Regions from separate parts of the Homo sapiens genome. Here region 2 is linked to region 1. Evidence: promoter capture Hi-C in 16 types of primary human blood cells and fetal thymus (Javierre and others, 2016). All regions are on one chromosome and are shown on one strand. Each heading gives the region's core, a stretch centred on a gene start or on the middle of the fragment in contact. The rest is flanking DNA. Distances are from core to core; before and after follow the strand shown. Region 1 holds the start of RBPMS (RNA binding protein, mRNA processing factor). Region 2 has its middle 110 kb from the start of DCTN6-DT.

Evidence for each region. Contacts are between HindIII fragments. The CHiCAGO score rates a contact against its expected background, and 5 or more counts as called.
Region 2: a contact is called between a fragment that was not itself captured here and the fragment with the promoter of RBPMS in region 1, in 2 of 17 cell types (M1 macrophages and M2 macrophages). The highest score is 5.3, in M1 macrophages.

Annotation. Positions count from the first base shown.
Region 1 is chr8:30,382,933-30,386,471 of GRCh38, forward strand. It overlaps RBPMS (RNA binding protein, mRNA processing factor), which reads left to right and starts at 1,609. Exons shown (of 9, transcript NM_001008710.3): 1 at 1,609-2,226. The coding sequence starts at 2,161. RBPMS-AS1 (RBPMS antisense RNA 1) reads right to left here and starts at 2,469. Exons shown (of 3, transcript NR_046205.1): 1 at 2,212-2,469; 2 at 612-765. RefSeq lists enhancers at 1,396-2,066, 2,067-2,738. The HindIII fragment of the contact is 8,815 bases long and covers 460-3,539 here.
Region 2 is chr8:30,265,271-30,269,360 of GRCh38, forward strand. No RefSeq gene overlaps it. Among named protein-coding and RNA genes, the nearest start is that of DCTN6-DT, 110 kb to the left of the region's middle. RefSeq lists an enhancer at 1-408. The HindIII fragment of the contact is 6,409 bases long and covers 1-4,090 here.

The DNA of each region.
Region 1 (3,539 bases), core at 359-2,858:
CTCTATCTCCTTAAGTGCTGAGATTCCAAGTGTGAGCCACCATACCACTTTAAACTCCCTAAAGGGAGGGTCCTTATCTGCAACTCCCACAGCCACCCCCGCCCTATCCCCAGCAGCACTTAAACCAAGTATAAAGAATGTCTGGTGGGGGTGGGGAGAAACAGTTAAGCAAATACTGTAGTTGGAAACTGTTACCGGTGCAAGACAGGAGCAGCAGGCTGGGATGGAGAATTCCTGGGAGGAAGAAGTGGGGCAGAACCCACTGATATATGGAGTTCCACATTTATACCTTTGTAGCAGTCAAATCTAAGAGTTTAACACGGTGGCTCCACGTTGTAATCCCATCAGTTTGGGAGGCCAAAAGCAGGAGGATCACTTGAGGCCAGGAGCTCGAGCTCAGCCTGAGCAACAAAGTGAGACCCTCATTTTTCTAAAAAAAAAAAAAACCAAAAAACCATAAGCTTAAATGATCGAGTATTGGAAACGCTTTCTAAGGCCCTGGAAAAATAGAAGTTTTCTTAATAATAATGTTAGCTTCCATGTATTGTAAACCTAAACGAAGCAAGAATAAATGCTGGGTGCTGTATATAGCTCTATCAACCTATAATCACCTCGAAAACTCGAGGAGACACATTCAGCTGCTCCCATTTCACGGATGAGGAAACAAGTACGCAATCCTGAAGCTGGTGCAAAGCCCAGGCCCCCTTTCTTTTTCAAGCGTGCTTCCAGCCTCTGAAGTTCCTCCGTACGGACCCCCAGCTCTGCCTGCAATAAGGAATATTCACTTTGCCAACAAATATTTATTGAGTGCCTGCTATATACCCCTTAGCCCGTTTAAATAGCCGTGGGATTAAAAAGATAAATAGGGCAGGATTTTTTTTTTTCTTCCAGGAAGGAGCTTTCTGAAGGGTGAGGGAGAGGCCAGGTAAACAATCCCAGAACAGTCTGGTGAGAGTTGGGAGAGGAGTCGGGGGGCCGCGGGACGCTCAGGAAGCGAAGCGGGGAAGGCTCCGGGCGCGTCGCAGGACCCGCGCTGGAGATGGGTTTGAAGCCCTGTCCTGAAAAAGCCGGCCCGGAGTGGGCTGTCCCCGGTGTCCCTCGAGTTCTCATGCTGTCATTCAAGCAGCAGAGGAAGAACCGGGTCTGGCTCGGGAAGGGTGGGCTTAGGGCCAGGGGTGCAAATCCCTCGGTAAAAGCCGGCAAACTAAAAGTCGCACACATCCCAGGTCCCGGTCCAGGCCCCGGCGGGGCAGGGTCCCCGAAGTCCCGGGGCGCGCAGACGCCGGGGCCCCCGGGGGCCAAGGGAACGGCGGGACCCGACCTCCCTGCCCTCGGCCTCCCGGGCCCTCGCCCTCCGACCAGCCGCTGAGTCGGGGGCTGGGGTCGCCGCTTCCGCCCGCGGCCCGCTGCCCCTCCCCGGCGCGCGCCATCCGGCCGCCGGCCCCTCCTCCCGCGGGGGGCTCCGTCCCGCGCCCCGTCCCTCCGGGCTGCAGCCGGCAGCCCACGTCCAGGGAGGGCGGAGGGAGGAGGAGAGGCGCGGAGAGGAGGGAGGGGAGAGGGGAGGGAGGAAGGCGAGAGAAAGGGAGCTGCTTCCATCCCGGACTTCCCAGAGCCTGCCTGGAGCGCGTACTCAGCGGCTCTCGGGTCCCAGCGTCCCAGCCGCGGCCCGCGCTCCTCCGCCCCGCTCCTCCTCCTCCTCTTCCTCCTCCTCCTCCTCTCTAGGCACCCCCGTCCCCTCCTTCCAGCGGCTGCAGCCCCCAGCCCCAACTCTCCGCGCTTACTCCTGGGACGCGCGTCCTCGCCCCATCCTTTGCTTCCTTCCTTCCTTCCTTCTTCCTTCCTCCCCTGGCTCCCGCCCTCCCTCTCCAGGTCGCCCTCCCGGGGCCCGATTGTCTCGGTGCCCCGCTCCCGGCCCGCGCCCTGCCCCGTCTCTCCCTTGCACTTCCTGAGTCGCCCGCCGCCGCCGTCGCAGACTCGCCGCGGGAGCCCCAGCCCAACCCGAGCCCGACAGCCACTGCCCCGGCTCCAGCTCCAGCCCCACAGCCCGCGGCGCCCGCCCGAGGGAGCCCCGGCGCCCGGGGAAGGCTCCAGTGGGCTAGCGCGCCCTCGCCCAGCCCCGCGCCCCAGCCCTGCCCGGCCCGGCGAGGAAGGACCGGGAAGATGAACAACGGCGGCAAAGCCGAGAAGGAGAACACCCCGAGCGAGGCCAACCTTCAGGAGGAGGAGGTACTGGGCGGCTCGGTGTGGTGGCGGGGGCGACGCGGGACCCAGTGCGGGCGGCCGGCGGGGCGCGGGCCCGGGGCGCGGCGGTGGAAGAAGGTTCAGGCATGGCCCGTGCCCCGGACGCAGCCCCACAGTGTGGCCCGGGGAGGGTGGATCTCGGGAGCGTGTGTTTTTGTGTCCACGCGCGTCTGCGGGCCCCAAATTGCGTAACTCCAAGGACTTTTCGGAGACTTTTGTAAGTATAATGCTCAGCTTTGTTTGCCCGGGATTTATAAGTGGAACCGAGAGCTGACTCCTGGGTGACCTCAGATAATCGGGACTCGGAGGGTCAGGACTTAGGGCCGGGGCTGGAAATTGTGTATGGATTCAGGGTCGGGGGGGGAGCAGTTTAAGGAAGAAACTCGGGGGAAAGTTCTCGTTAAAAGATACCTCTATTCCCTGCCCCCTCCCTTTCCGTGTTAAAAGTTCTTGGTGAAATATCTTTCTAGCCGAGGTTTTTTGGATTAATAGATAACTCATCAGCCACATTCTTCTCTGCTGAGTCAAAGACCCCGAGCCTGGGCGGTGAACGCTTGTGATTTTAGGGGCCGTGCAGCTGAGGGGAGCAGAGTAAGAGGGTTAAAAACGCAGCAATTCACCAAATGCTCATCGAGGGTATTTTCATAGGACTTTGACTTCTGAGCATGCATTTTAGGTGGTGCGTCCGTAATCATGATGAAAGTTTTGTGACTGCGGAGCGTTCCTTCGGTGGAAACAAAATTGAGTAGATGTGGTCAGAAGGGGAGTCGGACTCAGGAACAAACGTTTCAGAATTCAGTAGGATATTTGTGGTATCCTACCAAATGACTCTTTTTGCAGGTACGTTATCTGGAGTCCAAGAAATTATTTCTGGCGTACTTCTTAACATCCCACACAGTTGAGTTCTTAAACATTCTAGAGGAACTTGAGAGTGTGTGTAGATGCAGGAAAGTGCACGTCTAAATATGACCCGAAAAGATTCACACAGGTATTGGATCCTGATATAGGTGAACACAGAAGGTAAACGGATTCTAAAGCGTTAGAATGTTGAGATCATTGTTGAGACACTATGTTGTGTGCAAACTTCAATTCTGATAGTGAAACCAAAATTGCAGAGGAATTCATTAATACATACAACTTCTCTGCACATTGTCCACTTGGAAAATGGTAACTATTTAGATGGAGAAGGTAGAGGAGCGAGACTATGCCAAACAATGCAAAATAAATAGGAGATTTTACTCGTCACCCAGTTGTATGGTAGTGAAAACCTAAATGAATTGCAGTCAGCCAAAAATTGC
Region 2 (4,090 bases), core at 1,095-3,594, 120 kb before region 1:
AAGAGAATTGCTTGAACCCGGGAGGTGGAGGTTTCAGTGAGCTGAGATCACACCATTGCACTCCAGCCTGGGCAACAAGAGCGAAACTCCGTCTCAAGGAAAAAAAAAGAGCTTGGCACCTTTTCCTTCCTCTCTTGCTCCCTGTGCTTGCTCCCCCTTCACCTTTCACCATGAGTACAAGCACCTGAGGCCCTCACCAGACGCACATGCTGGCACCATGCTTATACAGCCCGCAGAACCATGAGCCAAATAAACCTCTTTTCTTCATGCATTAACCTCAGTTATTCCCCTTTATAGCAATGCAAAATGGACTAACACAAATAGATGACATATTTGAGGGTCAGAGAGTTTGCACACTTTTCCAAGGGCACACACACAGTAAATGGCAGAAGTGGGACTTGAACCCTACCTTTATAAGCCAGGCCCAGTGCTCCAATATGGGACCATTGGCAACTCAGTAAACTTTTGTGTGAGAGTGTTCAGTTGGAAGGTTAATTCTTGTTTGCCATAGAAAGAGAGAACAAGACTGACAGTGGAAGTCATTGTCACTATTGCCATCAAATATAATATTATCAGCAGCCCAAGAATGTCCACTTTTTAACAGAGCTAGGCTATTTTTTCAAAACCAGAATTTCTGTTTTGGATGAAGAAGCACAATAGTAAAAAAATCAGAGGCTGGGTGTGGTGGCTCAAGCCTGTAATCCCAGCACTTTGGGAGGCTGAGACGGGCAGATCGTTTGAGGTCAGGAGTTCAAGACTAGCTGGGCCAACATGGTGAAACCCTGCTGCTACTAAAAATACCAAAAAAAAAAAAAAAAAAAAAAATGAGCTGGGCATGGTGGCGTGCACCTGTAATCCCAGCTACTTGGGAGGCTGAGGCACGAGAATCGTTTGAACCTAGGAGGCGGAGGTTGCAGTGAGCTGAGATCGTGCCACTGCACTCCATCCTGGGTGACAGAGTGAGACCCTGTCTCAAATAAATAAATAAATAAATAAAATCAGGCAGGGCGAGGTGGCTCACACCTGTAATCCTAGTACTTTGGGAGGCCAAAGTGGGTGGATCGCTTGAGCCCAGGAGTTCGAGGCCAGCCTGGATACCCCGTTTCTACAAAAAATTAAAAAATTAGCCAGATGTGGTGGCACATGTCTGTGGTCTCTGCTACTCAGAAGGCTGAGGTGGAAGAATTGCCTGAATCCTGCGAGGTCGAGGCTGCAGTGAGCTGTGATTGTGCCACTGGGTTCCAGCCTGGGGAGCAGAGTGAGACCGTGTTTCCCCCCAAATCAAATTTTAGCCAGTTTTTATCAAGAAAAATAGATCTTCCTATTGGCTTATCAAAGTTCTTTAGAGACAAGTAATACAGGTGAACCTGGGCTCACATAAACAGAAAGGAAGGAATAAAATCAGATCCTCTCAAGGAAACAAGGGGCAGTAATGCGGATAGAAATGGGTAGGATTTTTTTTTCTCTCTAGCTCTTGTCTTTGCTTTTCTCTGAAGCATGTGCTTCATTCTTCTCTCTTTCTCAATTCAGACACACTTTCTCTGCTTCTCTGGCCACTCCAGTGTTTCCAGAGGTTGAGGCACCAGCCTGGACAAACTGAGCAGCTTCCTGGTCCCAATTCTCAATTTCCCAGGGGAGAGGACCTGAGGCCACCTTGGAGCAGGTGTTCGCCTCTGGTCCAGTCAGCAATAGGCAAGAGCAGAGGGTATCCTGTAATATCAGCATGGCTGCCAGGGCCCTACCCCAGTGCACCTGGTGGCAGTTCCCAGAGAATGAGGAATTGTGAGTTTTGCCCACACCTGAAAAAGTGTTGACCATAACTGAGCAGCGGGAAAATTGTTATAAAGTTTGGAATTAGCCAGTAGGCAATAGTTTTGTTAGGGCATAATTTTCACAACTGCTTTTCAAGAGTTCAGAAACTCTTAAATATAAACTTTAGTATCATGTGTCTGCTTGTATGTTTAAATCCGGGAACATCTTTACAGACCACCTAATCCAACCCTCCTTTATTTAAACCAGTGATGAAACTGGGACTTGGTGGGCAAAGTGACATGCCCAAGGTCACACAGCAAATTAGCTGAAAAGATGAACGGATGAAATTGTTTCTTTCTCTCTCTCTCTCTCTTTTCTTCTGAGATAGCATCTCACTCTGTTGTGCAGGCTGAGTGCAGTGATATGATTTTGGCTCACAGCAGCCTCAACCTTCCAGGCTCAAGCTATCCTTCTGCTTTAGCCTCCCAAGTTGCTGGGACTACAGGCACATGCCACCACACCCAGCTAATTTTAAAAAATGTTTTGTGAGCTGGGCGTGGTGGCTCACACCTGCAATCCCAGCATTTTGGGAGGCCAAGGCGGGTGGATCACCTGAGGTCAGGAATTCGAGATCAGCCTGGAGGCAAAACCCCATCTCTACTAAAAATACAAAAAAAAAGTTAGCTGGGCATGGTGGCACACGCCTGTAATCCCAGCTGCTTGGGAGGCTGAGGCAGGAGAATCACTTGAACCCAAGAGGTGGAGGTTGCAGTAAGCCAAGATTGCACCATTTCACTCCAGCCTGTGTGACAGAGCAAGACTGCCTCAAAAAAAAAAAAAAAAATTTGTGGAGATGGCTCACTATGTTGCCCGGGGTGGTCTCAAACTCCTGGACACAAGTGATCCTCCTGCTTCGGCCTCCCAAAGTGCTGGGATTACAGGCATGAGCCACCACGCCCAGCCAAACAGATGAAATTAGAACATGTATCTGACTGTGTTCTTATTACTGTACCAAGTTTCTCCACGTAACCTAGAAGTATCAATCAGCACTGAGTCCAAGAAGCAGAACTGCTAAGTGTGATGTAGATAGAACAAGATATTTCTTGTAGGGATTCAACTCCAGAGAGCCATAAAGCCGTCTCAGTCCAGCTGTTTCTCCTGTGCCTGGCGCCAAGCTGGAAGTCACAGGGCAGGGGCTGGGAAGAAAGGGGAACACAAATTGGGAGAGAGGCAGGCAGCTGGACTTCTGTCTGTCTCTCACTGGCGTCCATGTCAGCCCCTTCCCATCTCAGAGCCTCCAACTCCGGGCCCGCAGACTATCTGCAGGAGAAGCTGCTGTCTTGCCCAGAGCCATACTTGCACCTGGCTCGGGATTCAGAAAAGCTGAAGGAAGTGATCCCATGGGAGCTGGGGCTTTAGGCCAGATTGCTTCCCACACCAACAATGGACCCATTGCATCCGCTAAAACCTGACCCACCTGGGCCTTCTGAGACAAAAACACAGGTGCTGCTGAGTTTCCATCATCCAAATCTCATGCAAATTCCTCCTGTGGCCAACCCTAACCAGAAACATATAAGAAAGGGAATGACAGGAGTCTAGTTCAGCCTAGCTGAGTTGGCACCGCAAAGCCACCCCTCACAAAACTGACTCTGTGTGGGTGGCGGCGGTGCTACCTTCCATTTCCAGTGCTGGGACTGTGGCTGCTCCTTGCCTAACCCCTTCCTGGAGTCCAGCCACCTCTTCCCAACTCCCTTGTCCCTGCTCACACCAGCACAGGGGCTGTCAGCAAGTAAATCTGTGGCTTAAGTCAATGTCCAACCGGGAAATGAGATGCCCAAACAACAGCCTCTTGTGGGCACCCTCATTTCCTGTAAACTATTCTCTGAGAAGCACCTTATCTTCACTGGGGTTCACGGAAGGGAAGCATTTCTTTCCTTGGTGGATGGGGAGAGATTCTCCCCTCATTCTGAGCCCGGAGGCCCACCCAGGTATTCTCTAATAGAATCCACGGTGAGGAGGGTGATGGTAGCAGAGCCCGTTCTTCCACTTCTTGGTAAGCTGCGAGGAATGCTTCTAGTTCCCAGTTATTAGCAACTTCTCATGGTATTAGCAACTCTTGTCCTCAGCTTTCAGCCTCAGCCACAATTCCAGTCTGATGGGAAAAATCCTGCTTCACATCTTGTTTCATAGTTGTCCCTTGGAACTTCCTAGCCCCAATAACTCCTGTGGTTAGGAGCCATAATTAGGGATGTGCTTTTTTTTTTTTTTTTTTTTTTTTTTTTGAGATGGAGTCTTGCTCTGTCACCCAGGCTGGAGTGCAGTGGCACAATCTCAGCTC